3 separate regions of the Homo sapiens genome follow, and all the other regions are linked to region 1. Evidence: promoter capture Hi-C in 16 types of primary human blood cells and fetal thymus (Javierre and others, 2016). All regions are on one chromosome and are shown on one strand. The core of a region is centred on a gene start or on the middle of the fragment in contact, and the rest is flanking DNA. Distances in the headings are between cores, read along the strand shown.

What was found. Contacts are between HindIII fragments. The CHiCAGO score rates a contact against its expected background, and 5 or more counts as called.
Region 2: a contact is called between a fragment that was not itself captured here and the fragment with the promoter of IL1B in region 1, in 1 of 17 cell types (M1 macrophages). The highest score is 5.1, in M1 macrophages.
Region 3: a contact is called between a fragment that was not itself captured here and the fragment with the promoter of IL1B in region 1, in 1 of 17 cell types (M1 macrophages). The highest score is 5.8, in M1 macrophages.

The regions. Positions count from the first base shown.
Region 1 is chr2:112,834,936-112,838,573 of GRCh38, forward strand. It overlaps IL1B (interleukin 1 beta), which reads right to left and starts at 1,844. Exons shown (of 7, transcript NM_000576.3): 1 at 1,773-1,844; 2 at 1,248-1,309; 3 at 631-682. The coding sequence starts at 1,294. The HindIII fragment of the contact is 1,771 bases long and covers 201-1,971 here.
Region 2 is chr2:113,115,283-113,118,679 of GRCh38, forward strand. It overlaps a transcript of IL1RN not described here. Among named protein-coding and RNA genes, the nearest start is that of IL1RN, 11 kb to the right of the region's middle. The HindIII fragment of the contact is 6,409 bases long and covers 1-3,397 here.
Region 3 is chr2:113,134,535-113,138,116 of GRCh38, forward strand. No RefSeq gene overlaps it. Among named protein-coding and RNA genes, the nearest start is that of IL1RN, 8.7 kb to the left of the region's middle. RefSeq lists a silencer at 933-1,082. The HindIII fragment of the contact is 1,584 bases long and covers 868-2,451 here.

The DNA.
Region 1 (3,638 bases), core at 594-3,093:
CTTAGCTACAACTGAAAATATTTCAGAACTGGAGGTTGCAGGATGCTGGAATCTCAGAGATCATCCAGCTCAGCCCTTTATTTTTCAGATGAGGTCCAAAGCGGGTAAAATGACTTGTCAAGGTCAAACAGCAAGTGAATGGTTTTCTTTCAAGTCTCAATTCATCTTTTTGTTTATATCATCTATGTCTTGTTGTTATAAGCTTCACCCCAGGTAGCAAAAAACTATTCTACTCAAAAGGGGTAGACATATGTTAGTTCTCAAGATCATCTCTTGGTTTCAGAGTTTAACTCAAGTGATTGGCATAGGCTGAATCCATCTCTTAAAAGGATAATCAAATTTATGTTGAAGACTTGGTTGTCTTCCTACTATGAAATGGGAAACATTATCACTACTCCTCCCCTGTCACCACCAAGTGTGGCCACCACCACCAACGTTAGTGAGTGACTGTGGTGATATGATGACCAAGTGGCCAGGTCAGCAAGTGGTGCAGCCTGTGTCTCACTGGAAGAGGTTAAAGTCTTTCTAAAACAAAATACCATGGCATCAAAGTGGCCCAGAACTCCCTTCTTTGAGCTTTCCCTGTGTTAGAGCCCTTCCTTGGGTTGGGAGTTAAACCCATAGTCTTACCTTCATCTGTTTAGGGCCATCAGCTTCAAAGAACAAGTCATCCTCATTGCCACTGTAATAAAAACAGGGACATGTCTCAATTATGTCTTCTAAACAGGTTTATTTTTCCTTCCCTGTGTACAAGACTTGACTGTTCATAAGAAACTGCAAACAGCCTGCCTCTCAAAGCTGCCTGAAACACCTGGCAAGTTTCACAGTGATATGCGCAGAACAGTCCAGAAGGCAGATTCTAGGCCTGGCAGGTGGGCACCCTGGGTGCTCCCTGTTGGATCTTGAGGCCTAACCTCTAGCCCAGCAGAGTCAGCTAAAATCTGAGCTCTCCCTCTCCCTCCAAGCCACACTTTGCAAAGGGATTCCTTGTATTGTGGGCTTGGAGTCTTTTCTCCCCATTTGCCTCTGCAGGAAGCCCTTGCAACAACACATCTGGATAGCCTCCAGGTCCCAAGGCTGGAGGGACTTGTAATGGGAAAGTAGTCTTTAAATCAGATTTACTTGGCACCCTGTTTGCCACTGAAAGAGGCAATTTAGGGGAAAAATCTGGTCTCCAAGCACAGATAACACTCTACTCTTGAAAGAGGAGACCTGCTCATGTTACTGGTCTCAGCGTCTCCACTGACCTGTAATAAGCCATCATTTCACTGGCGAGCTCAGGTACTTCTGCCATGGCTGCTTCAGACACCTGTGTAAAAAGGAGAAAATGAGTGACTTCCCCATGACGGCTACGTTCATGTGTGATTTCTCTCAGCATCCAGTGCATGGCAGTCATGCAAAGAAATGATCTCTGAGTAAATGAATGAATGTGTGAAAGAGAAGTCCTTTGGGTCTAGAGAAAAGCATTTGCTAAACCAAACCCCAACTAGCAATGTATTGGCTAGGAGAGCTGGAGCAGAGGCTTTGACACTAACCTTTAGGGTGTCAGCTGTTAGATAAGCAGTATCCATTCCCAGAATATTTCCCGAGTCATAAGCATTATATTACACCTGGCATTTTTGCAAAAAGCTGAGAGAGGGAGGCAGAGAGGGAAGGAGAGGGAGAGACAGAGAAAGAAAGAGAGAGAGAGAGAGAATATGCATACACACAAAGAGGCAGAGAGACAGAGAGACTCCCTTAGCACCTAGTTGTAAGGAAGATTAAAGTCATACTTGAGCAATGAAGATTGGCTGAAGAGAATCCCAGAGCAGCCTGTTGTGCCTTGTGCCTCGAAGAGGTTTGGTATCTGCCAGTTTCTCCCTCGCTGTTTTTATGGCTTTCAAAAGCAGAAGTAGGAGGCTGAGAAATTTCTCTGTTGAATACCTGATTTCACAATCAAGTTAAAGGAAAGGGGAAAAGAGTATTGGTGGAAGCTTCTTAGGGGAGGGGACTAATAAACTGAGATAATTCTCTGGTTCATGGAAGGGCAAGGAGTAGCAAACTATGACACATTTTGCAAATGTATCACCATGCAAATATGCATTGTTTTCCTGACAATCGTTGTGCAGTTGATGTCCACATTAAAATACTGGATTTTCCCACGTTAGAAGAATGTTTAAATTTAGTATATGTGGGACAAAGTGGAAGACACACAGATTTATACATGCACATACTTTTCTTCATTCACTTCTTTGTACTTAAGTTTAGGAATCTTCCCACTTACAGATGGATAAATGGGTACAATGAAGGGCCAATAGCCCTCCCTGTCTGTATTGAGGGTGTGGGTCTCTACCTTGGGTGCTGTTCTCTGCCTCAGGAGCTCTCTGTCAATTGCAGGAGCCTCTGAGGAGAAAATTGACCTTTCTTGGCTGGGGCAGAGAACATACGGTATGCAGGGTTCAGGCTCCTGACGGAGTTGGGGCAACCCTGGAGATAAGCTCACACAACCCTGCAAGACCAGGTGCTGTTACCCTAGCCAATCTCATGGATGAACCAGATCAATGCCAGATGAGCTCTGCCTAAAATGATTTTTTGGTGAACTCTGAAAAGTGGAATATTGTTTCTGTAAGAATATCCATCTGAGACTCTATCTCTTGGTAATACCAACCAAGAGTTATCAGTTTCTCTTTAACCGAGACACCAGCAAAGTGCCTGCTCCAGGGTACTGCCCAGGGGAGCCCTCCATTTGTAGAATGAATGAGAGTCCAGGTTATGAACAGTGCCTGGAGTGTAGGAACACCCTCCTTTGCCTCTTTGACAGGTCTGCATCATAACACTTTTTTTTTTTTTTTGAGACAGAGTCTCACTCTGTCGCCCAGGCTGGAGTGCAGTGGCACGATCTCGGCCCCCTGCAAGTTCCGCCTCCCGGGTTCACACCATTCTCCTGCCTCAGCCTCCCCAGCAGCTGGGACTACAGGCACCTGCCGCCACGCCCGGCTAATTTTTTGTATTTTTAGTAGAGACAGGGTTTCACCATGTTAGCCAGGATGGTCTCGATCTCCTGACCTTGTGATCTGCCCGCCTCGGCCTCCCAAAGTGTTGGGATTACAGGCGTGAGCCACCGTGTCCAGCCTGTAACACTTCTTATAGCACTGAGTTGAAACCTTGCTCCTCCTGGTTCCTCCAGGAAACTGAAATCTTTTTGAGCCAAGTCTAGCACAGTGCCTGGCATGTACATTCAGGTGGTAGAGTTTGCTGCTTGAATGGGTGAATGGGAATTTGACAGCATTTTTATTCAAATTAGTATGTGCCAGGTATCGTGCTCGCTCTGCATTATCCAAGGGAGTGAGCCTCTGTGCAAGTATTTGAGACACGAGGGAAATAGGTTCTACTGTGGGAAAAAGAGCATTTCATGGACTTGCTCTCCAAGCAGCCTTCTGATTTTTAATTTGGCTCCCAGTATCTTGATATCAGGAGTCAGTCACAAGAACTCCATCTTTAGTAAGTTATATTTTCCACAGGAAATCTAAAAGCTGTTCAACATGTTAGTTTCCTGTGAATTTGATAAGCCATAATCCATTCCTAACACTGAGCCCTCCTGAAATTTGGTGTCTGGTCCTGCAGATAGCTAAAAGCCCTGTCTGGGTGGCCTAGGGGAC
Region 2 (3,397 bases), core at 45-2,544, 280 kb after region 1:
CATCCAGGGCCCCCCTGCTTGTGTGTGGTCTAGATTTCCATTCCCATAGTAGGAATTCCTTTGGGAGCCTTGGGGTCTCTCCTGCTAGAGGGCTTCACCTGTGACTGTCTCAATTCAAGGGAGGGGTTCTAATAACATTAAACCTCAATATCTTGCTCCTCCATTCCTGATGCCTCCCTTTCCTTCTACCCTTCCCCTACCTCCTTCTTTCCTATGCCACAGGCTGGCAGGTTAGTGCCAGAGCAAGTGGCCAGTCACCATCATTGGGGTTGTGGATCCTCAGGGTTCTTCAGAAGCCCCTTCACCATGATCAAGAGTCTCCAGTCACTCAGAATTCCACGGTTCCCAAATGCCAGCTCTCCCACTACTCCCAGCGTTCTCCATCTCTGGGATGTTGGGCTCCAGGCTTCTCAGATGCACTGAGTACCCTAGGCTAAGCCACTGATCCATCAGAACTTCATAGCCTGAGAGGAGAGGGAGACAGGCTTGCAAAGGAGAGTTCTGACTAGACACTGGGGTGCTACAGATGCCCGTAAGTTGTCCCTTTACCCTCGATGTCCCCAGTGTTGGGACCACCTGGGAATGCCCAGCCTTGTGTGCTGATTGACTTGTAGTCCCCTGGCCCTGACTGGAAGCCTAGTTTTCTCTCTCATGACCAGCTAGGCCCCTAGCTCCCCAGGGAAGAAATCCAATCTATTTCCTCTGATAGTAATGGCTAATACTTAAATAATGCCAACCACATGCCAAGCACTTTACAGTTGTTAGCCCAGTCTTCACAAGCACCTTGTGAGGTGGGCAAGAGTCTTATCTTACTCTCATTTTATAGATGTGGCCCAGGATCCCACAGCTATAGTTCATGGTGCTGGGATTTGAACCTCTGGCCACCAGAGCCCACCTTAATGTGTCCTCCTCCTGTTGTCATAACAGAAAAGTACAACACCATGATGACACATCAGGCTATCCTGGCAGGTTCCCAGGCTGCCCCAATGCCCAACTTTCTAGGTTTACAAAGTTGACATTTACGAAGTTTCCAGGTTTACAAATCTAGTTTCTGATTCTTTAGTCAGCAGGAATTTCTCTACAAAAGCTGCTTCGAAAATTTCCAGCCAAACCTTACACACCTTGGCATTACATCTTGGTGAGCCAAGGCGGAAGAGAACAGGAAGTGAAGGCCCCATGGGAAGTCCCTGCGGTCGGGAGCACCCAGGCGGGGCGGGGGGTGGGGGGCTTTCCTGTGGCCGGCTCCCTGCCCCTCCCACCCCCATTCAGGCCCTGTGAGTTGAATGAAGAGACCCTGGGAATGAGTCCAGGTCTGCAGGGTTAGAGGAAATTGAAGGCCCTTACCAGATCCCTGTTGAGAAGTTTATGAATTATGAGCCCTTCTGCAAATGAGAGGGTTCTTCCCTGTCAGGAGGGACAGATTGTAGGTGGCAAGATTGGTGGCAGCCAGTAGGCTGGTCTGCTCCTTCCTCTCTATTTCATATGTGTATGAAGGCATTACCTGCAGCAAGGGCCTGTGTAAATGCATGTGATTTACAGAGCATTTTATGTACTGCGTGTCATTCATGCTTCCGGTGAGCCCTAAGTCTAAGATAGGGCAGATAGCATCAGGTCCATTTTGCAGCTGTCAAAATGAGGTCTGAAGGGCAGAAGTGGTGTGCCCACACACACACAACTGGTTGGCTGCAGACCTGGGGACTAGACCCGGGACTTCGTCCTGCCCAGGGGTCTCTTGCCACTGCTCCCCATCAACTTGGATGGCTTTAAGCATTTGTGAGTTGTCTGCTCCCTGATGGCAGAATGCAGAGACATGAAGCTACAAGCAGGTTCGCTCCCAACGGCAAAAAGGAGGAGGGGTGTTCAGAACATCAGGTGCTTCTAGAGAAAGCAGGGAGAGAGTATCTGGCCTTGTGGACAATGTCACGGCAGAGGCCAGGTATAGGGCATGGGGGTAACTGGAAGCGGGATGGACCCTGTTATTCCCTAAGACATGGCTTCCACGTAGTGCTCAAACAAGGCCTTTGCCCTTGCTGTTCCCTCCACCTGGAATATTCTTCCCCTTCCTTGACATTGCTCAGGTCTCCACTCTTATGTCACCCTCTCAGAGAGGGCTTCCCTGGCCACTTTCCCTAAAATAGCCACCCACTCCTAGGTCCCTCAAAAGCATATCCTGCTTTGGATTTTCCCTATAGCAATATGCCCTATGAAGTTATTTTATTTGCTAACTTGTTTCTTGTCTGTTTTCCTTTGTTAGAGCGTTGGGGACCTTGTCTGGCTTGTTCCCAATGCCTGGAAGAGTGCCTGGCACACAGGATTAAGCCAACACATATGTTTTGAATGAATGTGTGCACACATGCATGAGCTGGCGGCAGTCGGGGTTGGGGTAAGCACGAAGGCCCAGCTCAGTTCTCTGCATGTGACCTCCCATCTTACGCAGATAAGAACCAGTTTGGTTTCTGCTAGCCTGAGTCACCCTCCTGGAAACTGGGCCTGCTTGGCATCAAGTCAGCCATCAGCCGGCCCATCTCCTCATGCTGGCCAACCCTCTGTGAGTGTGTGGGAGGGGAGGCTGGGCTCCTCCTTGTACTCTCTGAGGTGCTCTGGAAGGAGGGGCAGCTCCACCCTGGGAGGGACTGTGGCCCAGGTACTGCCCGGGTGCTACTTTATGGGCAGCAGCTCAGTTGAGTTAGAGTCTGGAAGACCTCAGAAGACCTCCTGTCCTATGAGGCCCTCCCCATGGCTTTAGGTAAGCTCCTTCCACTCTCATTTTTTCACCTGAGAAATGAGAGAGGAAAATGTCTACAATTGGTGTTTATCAAATGCTTTCAGGCTCTGGTGAGCAAGCGTCCAGGAAAATGTCAAGCGCATGGAGCTCCAGGCCTGTCTGGGGGATCTGGGCACGGGGAGGCATCCATGGGAGACCATGCAGGCACTCTGAGGCAGGGGCTGCAAGCCTAGTGCCTGCTGGGGCAGCAGGTGAACAGAGAGGTGTAACTGCTGTGACAGAAGTCATGGAGTCCTTGGAGTGTGAGGGTCATTTTCCACTGTTGATAGAATAGGGAAATTGGTGAAATAGCCCTGTTAAATGAGAGAAAGAACAGTGTGAGCTCAATGAGAAATACTAATAGAATGTGGCACTGAGCCACAAGGTCTGAGGGTTGATTGATAAGGAAGGGTGGGGACTGTGGAGAATTAAGGGCTTGGCACAGTCAGTTCCACCAGTTGTCACAAGAGAATGCAGGCTCAGGTGGCCAGAACTTCTCGCTTTTCCAGAAGAGTCCGATATTCTGATTTCATTATATATAGTATTCTGATTAAACCAGACAATAAAGCAAGCAGATAAAATATTTAAATTATAAGCTGCCAGTTTGCAACCTCCGGTTAGGATTTGTGTGGG
Region 3 (3,582 bases), core at 410-2,909, 300 kb after region 1:
GAGAGTGGCAGGCAGGAGCACCTGGGGGATTTTAGGGTCCAGACAACATTCTATTTCTTGGCATGGATGCAGTTAGGCGGTTTTCTGTATGTATATTTTATTTCACAATACCTAGAAAATAAAAAGACTTGCCCCCCAACAACCAGGGTGTAAAGAAAGGAGCATCTGGGAAATTATGAGATTAGTGAATGGAGTATTGAATTTGTCCCCATAGGTGGGAGTGCAAGACCATGAGTGACCACTTATCAAACACACCTCAGTAAACAGTCAGGAGAGTGAGGAGTGTGGTCCTTTCACCTGCCCAGGTTGTTTCTGTTAGATTCTGGGCTTGGTCTCTGGAGTCCAAGAGGCAGGCCCCAGTGAGGTCATGCACTTGCTGTCTGATTTTGGCCAAGTCACCTCCCTTTGTGGGGACTGTTCCTCATTTGTTTGAGGGGAATGTTGATTTGGATGGGGATTTTCCAAACAGAGCTCCTTGGACCCTTCCCTCTAAGGTCTCTGGAAATGGGAAACCCTGCAGAGGGGAGGATAAATGGGCCAGGATTCATCCCTTGAACCCTGTTCCCAACAGAGCCCTCTGTTTTTCTCTTCTTTACAACTTGGACCTCCCATGGGACTTTGTTTGAAAGGGAGACTTCATTGCTAAAAGCAAACTAAACTAAATAGGCTAAAAGGCAACAAACTGGAGAAAATGTTTAAGGTCTTCTCTAGATCTAAGATCCTATGACGTTGAGGAGGTCATCCAACATCTCTGAGTTTTCTCTTTCTTGTATATAAAATGGAAGTAGCTGGCAGGGCAGGGCATGTGTCGTTGATATATTTTTAATCCTGGTAAAAGGAGGAGGTTCAAGGCAGAAAACTCATCAAAGCTTAATGACAACAATAGCAGCTAACATTTGTGAGGCTCTAAGGTAAAACCCAAGGCTAAGACTCTTCATGCAAACTAGGTCAAGCAGCAAGCTACAGGTTAGAAACAGGCAAGGCAGCAAAACAGTCACATGGGTGAACTCTGGGACTCTGCAGTCACACTCTGACTCTCCTGCTTGCACTGGGTGCTCATAAGCAAGCTAGTTAACACCTCAGAGCCTTGGTTTTCCCACCACTAAATGCAAATAATAGGCAATGCTGAGTTATTGCAAAGTTACTTAATCTTTGCAATAGCCTTCTGTGGTGAGTGGCATATTCTTATTATTATTATTAGTCCTAGAAGAGTCAGTGCTCAAAGGAATCTGCTTTAGAGCCTTATTGCTCCAAGTGTGGTTCATGCATCAGCAACATCAGCATACTTCTGGAGTTAAAATGCAGATTCTCAGATCTCAGGCTTGACTTACTGACTTAGGGTCATCATCTTAACCAGATCTCCCATGCACATTAAATTTGAGAAGCACTGTTTTAAAATGCATTAGCCGGGTGCAGTAGTTCATGCTTGTAATCTCAGCACTTTGGGAGGCCGAGGCAGGTGGATCACATGAGGTCAGGAGTTCGAGATCAGCCTGACCAACATGGTGAAACCTCATCTCTATTAAAAATATAAAATTAGCTGGGCATGGTGGCGCATACCTGTAATCCTAGCTACTCAGGAGGCTGAGGCAGGAGAATCACTTGAACCTGGGAGGTGGAGGTTGCAGTGAGCCGAGATCACACCATTGCACTCCAACCTGGGCAACAAGAGCAAAACTCTGTCTCAAAATAAAGAAAGAAATAAGATAAAATAAAAAGCATAAATCGCACAATGCATAAGTTTTGGCATACGCACTAGCATAAAGGGATTCTCCTACTTATAAACCTAGCCCATCTCCTTACTCTCTATCACACTAGCCCATTGATGACACCAAAAACTCCCCTCTTAACACTTTAGCTGGGCATGGTGGTTCACGCCTGTAATCCCAGCACTTTGGGAGGCTGAGGTGGGCAGAGCACTTGAGGCCAGGAGTTCAAGACCAGCCTGACCAACATGGCAAAACCCTGTCTCTACTGAAAATGCCAAAAAATTAGCCAGGCATGGTGGTACATGCCTGTAATCCCAGCTACTTGGGAGGCTGAGGCATGAGAATCACTCAAACCTGGAAGGTGACAGTTGCGGTGAGCTGAGATCATGCCACTGCATCCCAGCCTGGGTGATAGTGAGACCCTGTCTCAAACAAACAAAAAAACAAAACACTTCCTTACTTTGGTTTAAAGTGTTCCATAAAATATTCCTAAGAGGAAAAACTTTAAATCATCATCGTGCTGCTAGAATGTCAGCTCAACCCATGCAGATATTTTTGTCTGTTTTGTTCTACAGTGTATCTCAAGTGCCAAGGCCATTGCTTGCGATATACTGGGTGCTAAGTGAATATCTGGCCAGTGAATAAATGAATTGGCCACTGATATATCAATATGGATTAATTTATTCGACAGGTCAGCAAATTTGAGAAGACTGGGGACTTGGATCAGGAATATTTTGAAGGAAGCTTAGAAGAGGGAAAAGGCCCAGAGTGAAGGATTTTTCAGATATTTGGAGGTTAAGAAAAAAGATATGACCACGAGGTGGCGGTAGCACACATAGGCTTTCGGGTTGATGCTTTAACAGGTTTACACTGGGGAAGGTCCTTTATAGCAGGAATTGGTCAAGGAGGCTATAGTGTGGAGATGGGGTCCTACTCAGAGGGGAAGGAGGGCAAGAGGACTCCTAGGAAAGAAGAGAATTGGAAAGGGGGCTTACATGGCCAGGTGAAGTCACCCAGCAGCACAGCAGGGAATCTCTGGGTCAGAGAGCTCCTATGGGCTGCAGTGGCTTGAGGCCTTTATGGCTTGGGGCTTATCCTTGGCCAGCAGATATTGGATACAGTTTCATGGAGTATACAGAGCAGGCAGGTTCTAAATGGATTACCATAGGCTTATTGGGGCTATGTTTAAAGCAAGTGGATGTGCAAACATTTGAGTTTGGCTTGGTGGGGTATTCCAGGTCTGGTCTCAGCCTGCGGTGAGGAAATTAATAATCAAGGGGCCAGCACTTTATATAGCACAAGGCAGGGGCCATGGATTAGGAAAGCCAGGCCTGGGGTTCATGCTTAAGTGAGGCTTTTGTTCAACTGGGAGGCGGTGCACAGGTGACTGGGAGGTGGAGGGGCTGAGATGGGAGAGAAAAGCACAGAGAGGGAAGACAAGCAAGCCTCAAGAGGATTGTGGCTTCTTCCGTCACTTCTGGGCCTGATCTACTACAACACTACAGAATCAAGGACAACTGTTTGAAAATTCAAGGCTGAATTCAGGTCTTTCATTGGTGAGTCAGAGTTTTCCTACAGACTCCCTGGGGGGCCCTTGGCCAAGCAACCTCTCCTCCCTAGGCCTCAGTTTTCATAAAAGGAGGGAATTGAACTAGATATGTGTCTTCATCAGGCTGACCTGCAGGAGCTTTTTACCAAAAGTGGCCTACCTCCTCCATCCAGAGGTTCTGATTCACTTGATCTGGGTGTGGGACAAGGACATCATGATGCCAGGGCTGAGGCCCTGTGGACCACATAGCTCCTAAGTCAGGGACCCTGAGGTCAAGTCCTCCCAGCTCTCCCACCTGGCCCTGGTAGTGTCTGTCAATACAAT